4 separate regions of the Homo sapiens genome follow, and all the other regions are linked to region 4. The links are contacts of gene promoters, found by promoter capture Hi-C in blood cells and fetal thymus (Javierre and others, 2016). All regions are on one chromosome and are shown on one strand. Each heading gives the region's core, a stretch centred on a gene start or on the middle of the fragment in contact. The rest is flanking DNA. Distances are from core to core; before and after follow the strand shown. Region 1 overlaps GALNT6 (polypeptide N-acetylgalactosaminyltransferase 6). Region 2 overlaps DIP2B (disco interacting protein 2 homolog B). Region 3 overlaps BIN2 (bridging integrator 2). Region 4 holds the start of SLC11A2 (solute carrier family 11 member 2).

Region 1 (2,821 bases), core at 235-2,734, 340 kb before region 4:
GTGCAATCTCGGCTCACTGCAACCTCTGCCTCCCAAGTTCAAACGATTCACCTGCCTCAGCCTCCCGAGTAGCTGGGATTACAAGCATGCGTGCCCAGCTAATTTTGTATTTTCAGTAGAGACAGGGTTTCTCCATGTTGGTCAGGCTGGTCTCGAACTCCCAACCTCAGGTGATCCACCTGCCTCCGCCTCCCAAAGTACTGGGATTACAGCCATGAGCCAGCGCGTCTGGCCTAATTTTTGTATTTTTAATAGTGGCAGGGTCTCACCATGTTGGCCAGGCTGGTCTCAAATTCCTTGGCTCAAGTGATCCATCTGCCTTGGCCTCCCAAAGTGCTGGGATTACAGGAGTGAGCCACCGTGCCCAGCCAGAATAGAGCTATTGTTAATGCTCTGAGGATTTCAGACTAAATTACAGGGCCATGAACTAAAACTCTTCTTTGAAAGGAGCTGGAGGTCTCAGTAGAGACATCTTCCCTTCAAAAAGCTTTCCCCGCTCCTCAAATCCAGGAGATTTGGCCCTTCTTTGGGACCCACACCCCAGCACTACCTCTGTTAGATCATGGATCACCTGCCCTGGAATTGCCTGTTTCCTGGTCAGCCTTGCTTCTGGGTGGTTTGTTCCTTAGGACAAATGGTCAAGCCGGCTGGGCTCGCCACTGTGCCTGGTCCGTGGTAGGTGCTTGGTGCAAGTATTTTCTTAATATAATTAAAAAGCTGCTGGGCATGTTTTCACCTTAAAGAATTCTATCTGCAGAGGAGGTTACAAAGGGGATTAGAGTCAGATGTCCTGCTGCTGATCCAGCAAGCAAGGAGTCACCATTTGTGTATGCCCACCCATCGACGTTACCGTGAAGAGCCTGGGAGACAGGGAATCCTAGACACTGGAAAACAACCGTGCAATGGAGCTGTGGAATTGCAGCTCTGGAAGATGGTGGCTGAGAGGGTGGAGAAACTGAGGGAGGCATCTGAGAGCCTCTGTCAGAATTTTGTACTTGGGCCGGGCGTGGTGGCTCATGCCTGTAATCCCAGAACTTTGGGAGGCCAAGGCAGGCGAATCACTTGAGGCCAGGAGTACGAGACCAGCCTGGCCAATATGGTGAAATGCTATCTCTACTAAAAATGTAAAAATGAGCCAGGCATGGTTGCACACACCTGTAGTCCTAGCTACTCAGGAGGCTGAGGCAGGAGAATCACTTGAGCCCAGGAGGTGGAGGTTGCAGTGAGCCAAGATCACGCCATTGCACTCCAGCCTGGGTGACAGAATGAGACTCCATCTCAACAACAACAACAAAAAGTTTGTACTTGATACGTGACCACAGAAACACAACTCTGAGGTGCTGTCCCTGACATTAGAGAGGGTGCCCAGGTGAACAGGCATAGGATCTAGCACCACAGAGCCAGAGCCCTGGTGAGGCAGTTTTGACCACAGACAGGGCTTCTTTCTTCCTCTCCCCATCTTCCCTGTTAACCTCCTTCCCCAGCTCCGGCTTCTGTGGAATGGCTCAGTACAGCAGGTGTTGGGGGTTTAAAATTCAGGCCTGCTAGAGGCCTGAGAGCCCCTAGCTTGGTGCCCACAGGGGATTGGGTATACAGCAAAGTGGTGGACTGGCCACAATGACACTGTCCCTTCCAGAGCACCTAAAGGAGAAGCTGGAGCAGTACGTGAAGCAGCTGCAGGTGGTGAGGGTGGTGCGGCAGGAGGAGCGGAAGGGGCTGATCACCGCCCGGCTGCTGGGGGCCAGCGTGGCACAGGCGGAGGTGCTCACGTTCCTGGATGCCCACTGTGAGTACCAGGGCACCGGCCTGGGTGTAACCTGGAGGCTCCCTCCCTGCTAGAATGAGCCAGGGCCACAGCCTCCCCAAGGCCCCTTCCTGTTCTCTCTTCCGGGAGTGAAGGAGGCTTGGGACCCACTCCAGGTGCCTCTACCCCTTTCTCACCCCAATCCCAAGGATGTTTCATCAAGAAGACAAACATCCCTAAAACAACTGGTGACCCCAAAATCACTGGAAGTGATTTCCAGTGATCACCGGGGCCCCGGACATTCATCCCTCCCTGTACTCCCATCTGCACCTTGCTCTGAGCTTGGCCCCTCAGAGAGGCCTCCTGCTATGACAGAACTGGCTTGTTTGGGGCTTTCTTCTAGGGCAACATGGAGCCAGGAAGGCCTCCTTCTTGCCCAAAACCAAAACACTTCCCCACTGTTGTGGAGGATGAAATATTTTCCCTAGGAGTGGTGATATATATTAGGGGAAGCTCTAGTCTTGGAGTCAGAATTCTTGGTTTGCATTCTGACCCTGCCCCACTAACAGCCTCAGTTTCCTCATTTATAAAATAGGAATGAGGATACTAACCTTACTGAACAGAAATATTACTCTGAGGGCCGAATGAAGTAATAATACGTGCAGAAGCTCACTGAAAATCTCAAGGAGCTAGACAAATGAAAGAGATTATTCTTCTACAATTAGGGCTGAAGCTTGACATGCGGATGCCCCTGGGAGGGGGAACACCCTCTTCTGAAATCCACACGTGGGCCCGGAGGGCTGGGCCAATGGATCGGCTGGAACCCCGGAAGATACCATCCAGGGCCTCCCTGTGCTTTTGGGTCATCTGAGTTGACCATGTTACTCCCCTGAGACCTCCATTCTCCCTGCCAAAGCTGCCTCCGCCTTTGGGGGTAGAGGGGTGGTAGAAGGGTTTTAGGAAATTCTGTGTGCTCCCTGTAGCTGTGGGGCTTGCTGCCTGTAACCCAGGAGTAGGTGGACTGTCTCTTATCCTCCTGGGCATTCCCTCCAGGATGCAGCTTGGGCTCTGCTGTGG
Region 2 (2,924 bases), core at 149-2,648, 290 kb after region 4:
TCTCAGTTCTAGTCCCTTTTCTGTTATTTACCCATCAAGAATAACATGACAAAGTTGCCATCTGGGTAGAGAAGAGAATACAAGGTTATTGTTTGGAAAAAAAAAAAAAAAAAGAAAGAAAAAAAATGGTATAGAATATAGAGACAGAAAAACAGAAGGTCAGACCGGGCGCGGTGGCTCATGTCTGTAATCCCAGCACTTTGGGAGGCTGAGGCGGCTGGATCACTTGAGGTCAGGAGTTTGAGACCAGCCTGGTCAACAGGGCGAAACCCTGTCTCTACTAAAAATACAAAAAATAGCCGGGCGTGGTGGTACACGCCTGTAATCCCAGCTACTCTGGAGGCTGACGTGAGAGAACCGCTTGAACCCAGGAGGTGGAGGTTGCAGTAAGCTGAGACTGCACCACTACACTCCAGCTGGGGTGACAGAGCAAGGCTCCGTCTCAAATAAAAAAAAAAAGAAAAAGGAAAAACAGGTCAGATACAAGTAAAATCCAAATAGGACTCAAATCTTTGTGACTCGTCATCATGACCACACGACGATGACTCAAGTAAACACCAACACTGCGCTCACTGTCAGCACTGCTCCAAGAACTCCGAGTTGGCAGCTCAGTGATTGTGCAAGCTGCCTGGGGAAGCACAGTACTGCTACCTTCACCTTACAGATGAGCAAAATGAGACACAAAGAAATCGAGATTTAAAAGCCCGAAGTTCCAAAGCAAGTAAGTGCGGCTGGGGCCCAAGCCCAGGCAGCCTGGCTCCAAAGCCCATGCTCTGGGATACTCCATATTCCTCTCCCATTTGTCAACAGACAAGATTTCATGAGGGTCACCTGTAAACATATTGCTACATTGACTCTTGATCCAAAAGTGGTGCTGACAGCCCGCGGGGACAGCCCGATGTCTTTGAAGAGCTTAGAGAAGGACTGCTGGAGTGCAACGCGGGGCCTCTCCTCCGCCACCACCACACAGGTCCGGACGCAGGAGAGGTTGATCCCTCTGGTCTGCAAGACACCATTATATGGGAGCCAAGTCAGTAGGATCATAAAAGAACTGAACAGGTAAGGCCACTGTTCTAGCTCCTTGGTCAGGAAAAGCCAAGCAATTGTGTATTCTCACCTCAGGCACACAGAGAAAAAAGCAGCTTTCAGAAAAGAAGAAACGGACAAGGCATCCCATTAAAATCACTATCTGCTGGTAAATTTGCTCATTCTCTAGTTCTTTCCTCTTTCTTCTAAAAATCTAAGGCTCTTCAGCAATGTTTTTATCCCTCCTCATTTCTGTACCTTAGATGTCCCCCTATTTGATGAGACTGAGAGAAAAATTAATCTAGAACTCTGGCGATCTAATCTCATCTCTTTTTGCATTCCAAAGATATTTTTCTATCAAAGAAAATTCAGTATCTTCTGACTTTCTCATCTGCAAGTCAGACAGATCATCATTTGACACACACATGAATCAATGAGTTACCCTTATCTTTGGAGATATTCTGAATTCCTAATATTTTGAGGTTTCAAATTCTATTAGGAAAAAAAAGTATTGGAAGCCACAGTTCCCTTTTATGTTTACATAAAGTCTTTCCAGTTAGCCTCCCAACCAGTTTCCGCTTCTTGTCCACAAAGTAAGAATCATATTAAACTGTGGAAGAGTGCACTAAATTAGGAAGGTGGAAGAGATAAACTTGCCAAAGTTTAAAATACACCCTTTTTTAACTGAGTGACTTGAAAAAGGCAAGCAAACATGTCTGTTAGCCCCTGCTCTGGCCCTGTTACGTCCTGGCGCATTTCTTCAGAACCTTTTGGGACTGGCCACCTGCTGGAGCTGCTTCTTACCTTTAGCACTTCCACTTGGTTCCCAAGACCTTTGGTGCAGAGCTCCATCACTGAATAGGAGCAGAAAGTGTCCCTTATTTTGTACTGGTTGACTGTGGAGAGCCAGAGGAAAAGGTTGTTCTCTAACTCCATAGGAGGAATTAAGACAGACTGGTGGCCTGAATAGACACTGCAGTGAAAGAGACAAGAGCTGGAATCATCAATTCATCCTGGATACCTGATGCTTCAGAACCCCACCAATTCCACAGATATTTACTGAGTGTAAAGGACAGTGTAGGGACATATGAGATATAAAGCTCTAAGAATCAGTCTTGTTCCTATGCAACTCGCAAAAGGAGCAACTATGAAATAAAGCAGACTGTGGTAGGTCACTTAAGTCTACATAACATTCTTACAGCTGCCCTCAAGCTAATTAATATGGTCAAGATGATACTAAACATTCTGGAAAGGTAATTCCTAATAACTAATCTTTAAAACCCTGATGGAGTAGCATTTTTTCCTCTTTCTATTCAGAAACCTTATGTGTGGACTGGATTTTATTCCTATGGTTTCTTTTAAAGATGTTTATAGCCATTTTATTGATGCTCTGAATATGAGATGTGAATCAAGAACACTGACATCACAGAATAAAGAGCAGTTCATTCAAGCTCGATAAGCCAGGGTAGGGGAGTGGTAGTGCTTCACTGAGCTGGTGACACTTGAGCTGCAGCTTGAAGAATGAGTATGAATTTGGCAGTGGCCAGAAGAAGTGGGGACGGTAGTGAGGGTGTTCTAAGCAGAGGAACAACATTTACAAAGGCCGATAATTACAGCATGTTTGAAGCGATCAGAAATATTAATAGTATTCAAGTGGCCAGGCACGGTGGCTCACGCCTGTAATCCCAGTACTTTGGGAGGCCATGATGGGAGGATCGCTGGAGCCCAGAAGGTGAAGACCAGCCTGGGTAATAGAGCAAAACTCATGCCTCTACAAAAAAAATTTTTTTAACAATTAGCCAGGCGTGGTGGCACACACCTGTAGTCCCAGCTACTTGGGAGGCTGAGGTGGGAGGATCACTTGAGCCCGAGAGGCTGCAGTGAGCTGTGATTTGTGC
Region 3 (2,979 bases), core at 440-2,939, 260 kb before region 4:
CGCCTGTAATCCCAGCACTTCGGGAGGCTGAGGTGGGCGGATCATGAGGTCAGGAGATCGAGACCATCCTGGCCAACATGGTGAAACCCCGTCTCTACTAAAAATACAAAAAGTTTGTTGGGCATGGTGGTGTGTGCCGTAATCCCAGCTACTCGGGAGGCTGAGGCAGGAGAATCGCTTGAACCCAGGAGGCAGAAGTTGCAGTAAGCCAAGATTGTGCCACGTTGCACTCCAGCCTGGCAACAGAGCAAGACCCTGTCTCAAAAAAAAAAAAAAAGATCTAGGATAGATTATCTCCAGTCAGGTACATTGTAGAGAGGATTATGGTGAAATGTCTGACTAGATGGCAACAAGATTTATTCATTCTACAATTACTTACTGAGCCCCTACAGTGTGCCTGGGACTTTTCTAGGAGGTGGGGTATGACAGTGAACAAAACAAAATACCCTGCCTTCCTGAGGCTTATATTTTAGTGCGGAAGACAGACAAAAAAAAAGAATAAATAAAATTACAATCTAGTAATGATAAGTGATATGAAGAAAAATTAAGTAGGGAAGGACACAGGGAGTGGGAGCTGAGTTGCAAGTTTATAGAGCAGTCAGCGGTGACATGTGAGCAATGAAGAAGGCTAGCACATGAGCCATGTGTATATCCGGGAGAAGTGTGTGAGATTTCTGACACTCGTTAGATCACACCACCCTACTACTGCCTGTGTCTGACCAAGGCTACCTCGGGAGCCTCCTGATATCTGAGAGGAGCTAATATGGACCAAGGGCACAGGGATGGCCCCCAGGTGGAAGGTGTGGGACTCTCTCCTCCATTGTTCACTTTGATTCACAGGTTGCTTCAGAGCCTGGAGAGGCAAAGAAGATGGAAGACAAGGAAAAGGATAATAAGCTTATCTCAGCTAACTCCTCGGAGGTACTAAAAGCCTAAGTCATCTACATGATGATGCCCTATTTTTTTGTACATTAAAATTTATTTTTCTTTTTCCAGAAGTATATCTTTCAGAGGCCTTCAGTCTTGATTCACATGAAGCACTGAGGGCCCTAACAGAGCAAGATGTAAAACTTGTCCTGGCCGGGCGCGGTGGCTCATGCCTGTAATCCCAGCACTTTGGGAGGCAGAGGCGGGCGGATTCCCAGGTCAGGAGATCGAGATCATCCTGGCTAACACGGTGAAACCCCGTCTCTACTAAAAATACAAAAAATTAGCCGGGTGTGGTGGCGGGTGCCTGTATTCCCAGCTACTCGGGAGGCTGAGGCAGGAGAATGGCATGAACCCGGGAGGTGGAGCTTGCAGTGAGCCGAGATTGCGCCACTGCACTCCAGCCTGGGTGACAGAGCGAGACTCCGTCTCAAAAAGAAAAAAAAAAAAAACTTTTCCTAGGCCGGGTGCAGTGGCTTACGCCTGTAATCCCAGCAGTTTGGGAGGCCGAGGTGGGCGGATCACCTGAGGTCAGGAGTTCGAGAGTTTGAGACCAGCCTGGTCAACATGGTGAAACCCCATTTCTACTAAAAATACAAAAATTAGCCGGGCATGGTGGCATGTGCCTGAAATCCCAGCTACTGAGGAGGCTGAGGCAGGAGAATTGCTTGAACCCAGAAGGCGGAGGTTGCAGTGAGCCGAGATCTCGCCATCGCATTCCAGCCTGGGCAACAAGAGTGAAACTCTGTCTCAAAAAAAAAAACAAAAAAAAACAACTTTTCCTTAAGTCAGGCTCACTGATGCAAGCCTGTAATCCCAGCTACTCAGGATGCTGAGGCGGGAGGATCACTTGAGCCCAGGTGTTCGACACTGTAGTATGCTACGATCACACCTGTGAATAGCCACTGCACTCCAGCTTGGGCAACATAGTGAGATCCCATCTCTTTAAAAAAAATTTAATAAAAAGATTTGGGTGCAGTGCCTCAACCTCCCAAGGTGGCTGTAATCCTAGCACTTTGTTGGGGGCTGAGGCAGGTGGATCACTTGACCCCAGGAGTCTAAGATCAGCCTGGGCAACATAGGAAAAACCCATCTCTACAAAAAATACAAAAATTAGCCAGGCGTAGTGTCACATGCCTGTGGCCCCAGCTACTTGGGAAGCTGAGGTGGGATCACCTGAGCCCAGGGAGGTCAAGGGTACAGTGAGCCATGATCACGCCACTGCACTCCAGCCTGGGCAACAGAGTGAGACCCCATCTCAAAAAAAGATTTTTTAAATAATAAAAATGACTTTTCCTTGGTCAGTTTCTAGTCTGAGGCAGCTGTGCTGATGGAGAGAGATAGGCAGGACATGTGGAGAGTGAATAAGTGCAGGATAGATGCGGGGTTTTGAGTAGGTAAGCATAGCCACTTCTCATTTTTCTGCACTGAAAAGAGCAACTCAATGGTTGAATTGATTTCAATTTGATTTTATAATGTATTATATGATTTTAGATGGAGACAGTAATAGAGTGACTTTTTGATTGCCTCTGGGGAATGATAAAACAAGCTTGCATTCTTGGAGTCATCTTTTTGAAGGGAGGAGTTTATAGGAGCCAAGACTCTTTCTGACCATTTTAAGAAACAGGCTAGTAACACTGTCCTCCCTGGAAAAGAGGTACAGGATACACTCTCCTTCCGCCTGAGTCTGTCTCCTTATATTTTAGATTTATAATATTTCCTTACTCTTAGCCTCTCTGGTGGGATTGCTTTGGTCATCAGCTAAGGAGAAATATTTTTCCTGTAGAATTAAGCAACTAGAGCATCTTAGATCCTAGCCTATTCGTGTCATCAATCCTCTGAAGCCTGTGTATGCTCACTTCCCTTGCAGATGCATTATAAATCATATTTTCTCTCAGGCAGAATTATGGACATGTCACATGTAAAAATGGGTAAATATAAATATAACTGGGAAAAAACATAGCCATTTTTGAAAAAAAATTACTGGGAAAAAATCTGTTCTTGCTTACCATTTGAATCATCTCAGAGAGATGGAAGGTTTTGATAACTTTC
Region 4 (2,866 bases), core at 138-2,637:
TACCTTTAATGCTGTAAGCAGTGCGAGGGGTCGGGGAGTGAGGGTGGCGGGAGGATCTAATGTTTTTGGTGGCTGTAAACGACATTGCAGAAAATTACGGTAATTTGTTAGGCCATTTATTCCCTCTTCACCAGTTTGGCAGTCTCATCTTCAGAGCAAAAGATACGGTGTGAGGCTGAAACTGGCGATAGAGTGGGATTGCTTTTGGGTAGGTAGGATGAAGTCTGGGGAGAATCGAGTCAGCTGGGCGAGGAGGAAAACAATTCACTACGGAGGCTTGGGAGGACACCTAAGGCGGTCAAACTGGCTGCACTAGCTGATGTTTCTCGGTTCCTCCCAGGTGTGGGGTGCTCTTGGTGGGGCAGCAGATACTATGATGTGGCTCTGGGGGCGCGAGGAAATGTTCCTTCCAGGTGGCTATCCTTTTTTTTTGAGACAGGGTTTTGCTCTGCCACCCAGGCTGGAGTGCAGTGGCACGATCTTGTCTCACCGCAGCCTCCACCTCCCAGGCCCAAGTGATTCTCCCACCTCAGCCCCCGAGTAGCTGGGACCACAGGCGGGCGCCGTGATGCCTGGCTAATTTTTTTTTTTTTTTAGACGGAGTTTTCGCTCTTGTTTCCAAGGCTGGAGTGCAATGGCGCGATCTCGGCTCACTGCACCTCCGCCTCCCGGGTTCAAGCGATTCTCTTGCCTCAGCCTCCCGAGTAGCTGGGATTACAGGCATGCGCCACCACGCCCGGCTAATTTTGTATTTTTAGTAAAGACGGGGTTTCTCCATGTTGGTCAGGCTGGTCTCAAACTCCCGATCTCAGGTGATTCGCCCGCCTGGGCCCTCCAAAGTGCTGGGAGTACAGGCGTGAGCCACCGCGCCCGGCCTTTGCTTGGCTAATTTTAAAATTTTTTGTAGAGACCGGGTCTCACTATGTTGCCCAGGCTGGTATCGAACTCCTGGACTCAAGTGATCCTCCCGCCTCGGTCTCCCAAAGTGCTGGGCATTACAAGTGTGAGCCTCCGCGCCTGGCCTGGCTACCCTTTACAGGATAGAGCTATACCTCGTAGCTTGATTGTCAGTACCTAACGTGGCGCCACGGCGAACTAGGGCAGGAATCTTATCTGTCCCCAGACTGCTAGCGGACTGGAGCTCCCCAGTCCAGGGGCTGTGTGGGTCTGGCCAACGCAAGCAGCAACTAGGCAGCATGCAGCTCCCGCCGGGTGCCCCAGGGGCCGCCGCGTGCCCCAGGGGCCGCCGCATCCAGACTCCGCGTGGGCGGAGCCTAGGTCCCTGGTCTGCGGGCCACGCATCCCGGCCGCTGCAGGGACTCCAGCCAATAGGGATGTGCGGCTGCCGTCCTGTCGACCAATCGCGGGGAGGGGAGGGCGTTAGCCAGCGTGGCGCTGGCTCCCGGAATATGGAGCCCTGGGCGCGGGGGCGGCGTGTCAGGTGGTTGCGGAGCTGGTAAGGTGAGGGGAAGGCAAGGTCAGGGGTCACGGCATTCCGCTCGCTGGCAGGGAGGGGCGCGGGGCGGCTCGAGGGCCTGTGTCGGGGGTCAGGCTCCGGGGCTAGGATGCGACACCGGCTCGCCGTGCGGGGCTGTGAGGGGAGGTGTGGCCAGGGAGGGCCTCAGGCCCAGAGTCCAGGACTGATGGAGTCGCGCCATTCAGAGAAAGACCCAAAGATGGGGGCAGGGAGGGAACGCCGGAGGTCGCGGGGGTCTCGCCCCTTCCCCGCCGCGGCCTAGGACACATGGCCCAGCTCCCAGCTGCACCGGATGGCGCGCCCGGCCTGTGTCGGGGTGCGCTGACCTGCTTCGACGCCTCGAAAGAGGCCGACGGGCACAGGGCAAGGTCTTTCGTGGCCTCTTCGTCGGCGCCGCAGGGGGCCGGGCTGCTCTCCGGGGCCTCCCGCCGCCCCGCTTCAACAAAAGACTCATTATAACCTAACCGACTTCAGGGAGCGCCTTCTGTGTGAATAGCCTGCATACGCGGCTCAGTAATTGTGGGTAGATTGGTTTTAAGGCTGTTTGTGTAGCTCTCAGGGACCCTCTGGATTCCAGGCTCCAATGAGCAGGGTTTTTCTACAGGGGGATATTGCACATATGTAAGTGGGCTGGATGGCTCTCCCAGCTGTGCGTTTCATGTGTCCCCACTTTTAAAGCTACCGCTTAAATGTGACATCTCTTGCAAAAGCAAAAATTATATGGAAGGAGAGTTTGCAAGGGGAGATAGGCTTCTAAAAACTTGCTGGCCTCAATTTTAGTGACTGTTGGTGAAAAATGGAGAAGCTATGTTTACACTGACTTCTGGAACCCGAAGCCCCACCAGTTCGCATGATTTCTTGGCTTTGTAAATCTTTGAGCATGTTGTTTGCCTCTTTCTTCTTTTGTTCCACGTACTTAAAATGGGGATTGATAATATCAGTCTTACAGGGTTGTTGGTATGAAATTAGTTAATAAACAACAAAGTACTTAGAACTCTTGATGTGGAGGAGTTTTTGTTGTTGTTACCTTCTTTCCCCTTAACACTTCTAAAGAATTCTAACCTTATTACTTATTCTTTGCTCAGAGTCTCATGACTTATCACCAGTGAACCCGCCGGCCTATACTTTCCATTGACATCATTAACTTTGATCTGAGGGTATAGTGTAGTTATATGTGACTAGAGGATTTCTGCTGCGTGTTTGTTTTATTAAATACGGTTGGAAACTATCATTATACTAGGTCATTTATTGTGATACCTGTGTTGGGTAAATGAAACCTGAAACCTTCGGCTGTTTATTTTTTCATTGGACAGTATTTCATTGACAGTCTTGCTTGGCCTACTCAGTTTATTTTGGAGCCAGTACTAAAAAGGCCATGATTGCAGCATA

What was found. The method cuts DNA at HindIII sites, captures the fragments that hold promoters and counts their contacts. A CHiCAGO score of 5 or more calls a contact.
Region 1: a contact is called between a fragment that was not itself captured here and the fragment with the promoter of SLC11A2 in region 4, in 1 of 17 cell types (megakaryocytes). The highest score is 6.9, in megakaryocytes.
Region 2: a contact is called between a fragment that was not itself captured here and the fragment with the promoter of SLC11A2 in region 4, in 1 of 17 cell types (megakaryocytes). The highest score is 5.4, in megakaryocytes.
Region 3: a fragment that was not itself captured here is called in contact with the fragment with the promoter of SLC11A2 in region 4 in 1 of 17 cell types (megakaryocytes); the score reaches 5.4 in megakaryocytes.

The regions. Positions count from the first base shown.
Region 1 is chr12:51,364,395-51,367,215 of GRCh38, reverse strand. GALNT6 (polypeptide N-acetylgalactosaminyltransferase 6) reads left to right here. Exons shown (of 12, transcript NM_007210.4): 5 at 1,637-1,786. Among named protein-coding and RNA genes, the nearest start is that of CELA1, 19 kb to the right of the region's middle. The HindIII fragment of the contact is 1,990 bases long and covers 490-2,479 here.
Region 2 is chr12:50,730,444-50,733,367 of GRCh38, reverse strand. It overlaps DIP2B (disco interacting protein 2 homolog B), which reads right to left. Exons shown (of 38, transcript NM_173602.3): 31 at 1,831-1,999; 32 at 832-1,002. Among named protein-coding and RNA genes, the nearest start is that of ATF1, 32 kb to the left of the region's middle. The HindIII fragment of the contact is 4,800 bases long and covers 1-2,924 here.
Region 3 is chr12:51,286,050-51,289,028 of GRCh38, reverse strand. It overlaps BIN2 (bridging integrator 2), which reads left to right. Exons shown (of 13, transcript NM_016293.4): 11 at 841-921. Among named protein-coding and RNA genes, the nearest start is that of SMAGP, 17 kb to the right of the region's middle. The HindIII fragment of the contact is 1,579 bases long and covers 900-2,478 here.
Region 4 is chr12:51,024,905-51,027,770 of GRCh38, reverse strand. SLC11A2 (solute carrier family 11 member 2) reads left to right here and starts at 1,387. Exons shown (of 16, transcript NM_000617.3): 1 at 1,387-1,461. RefSeq lists silencers at 1,007-1,726, 1,737-1,796 and enhancers at 1,202-1,813, 1,814-2,427. The HindIII fragment of the contact is 11,669 bases long and covers 1-2,866 here.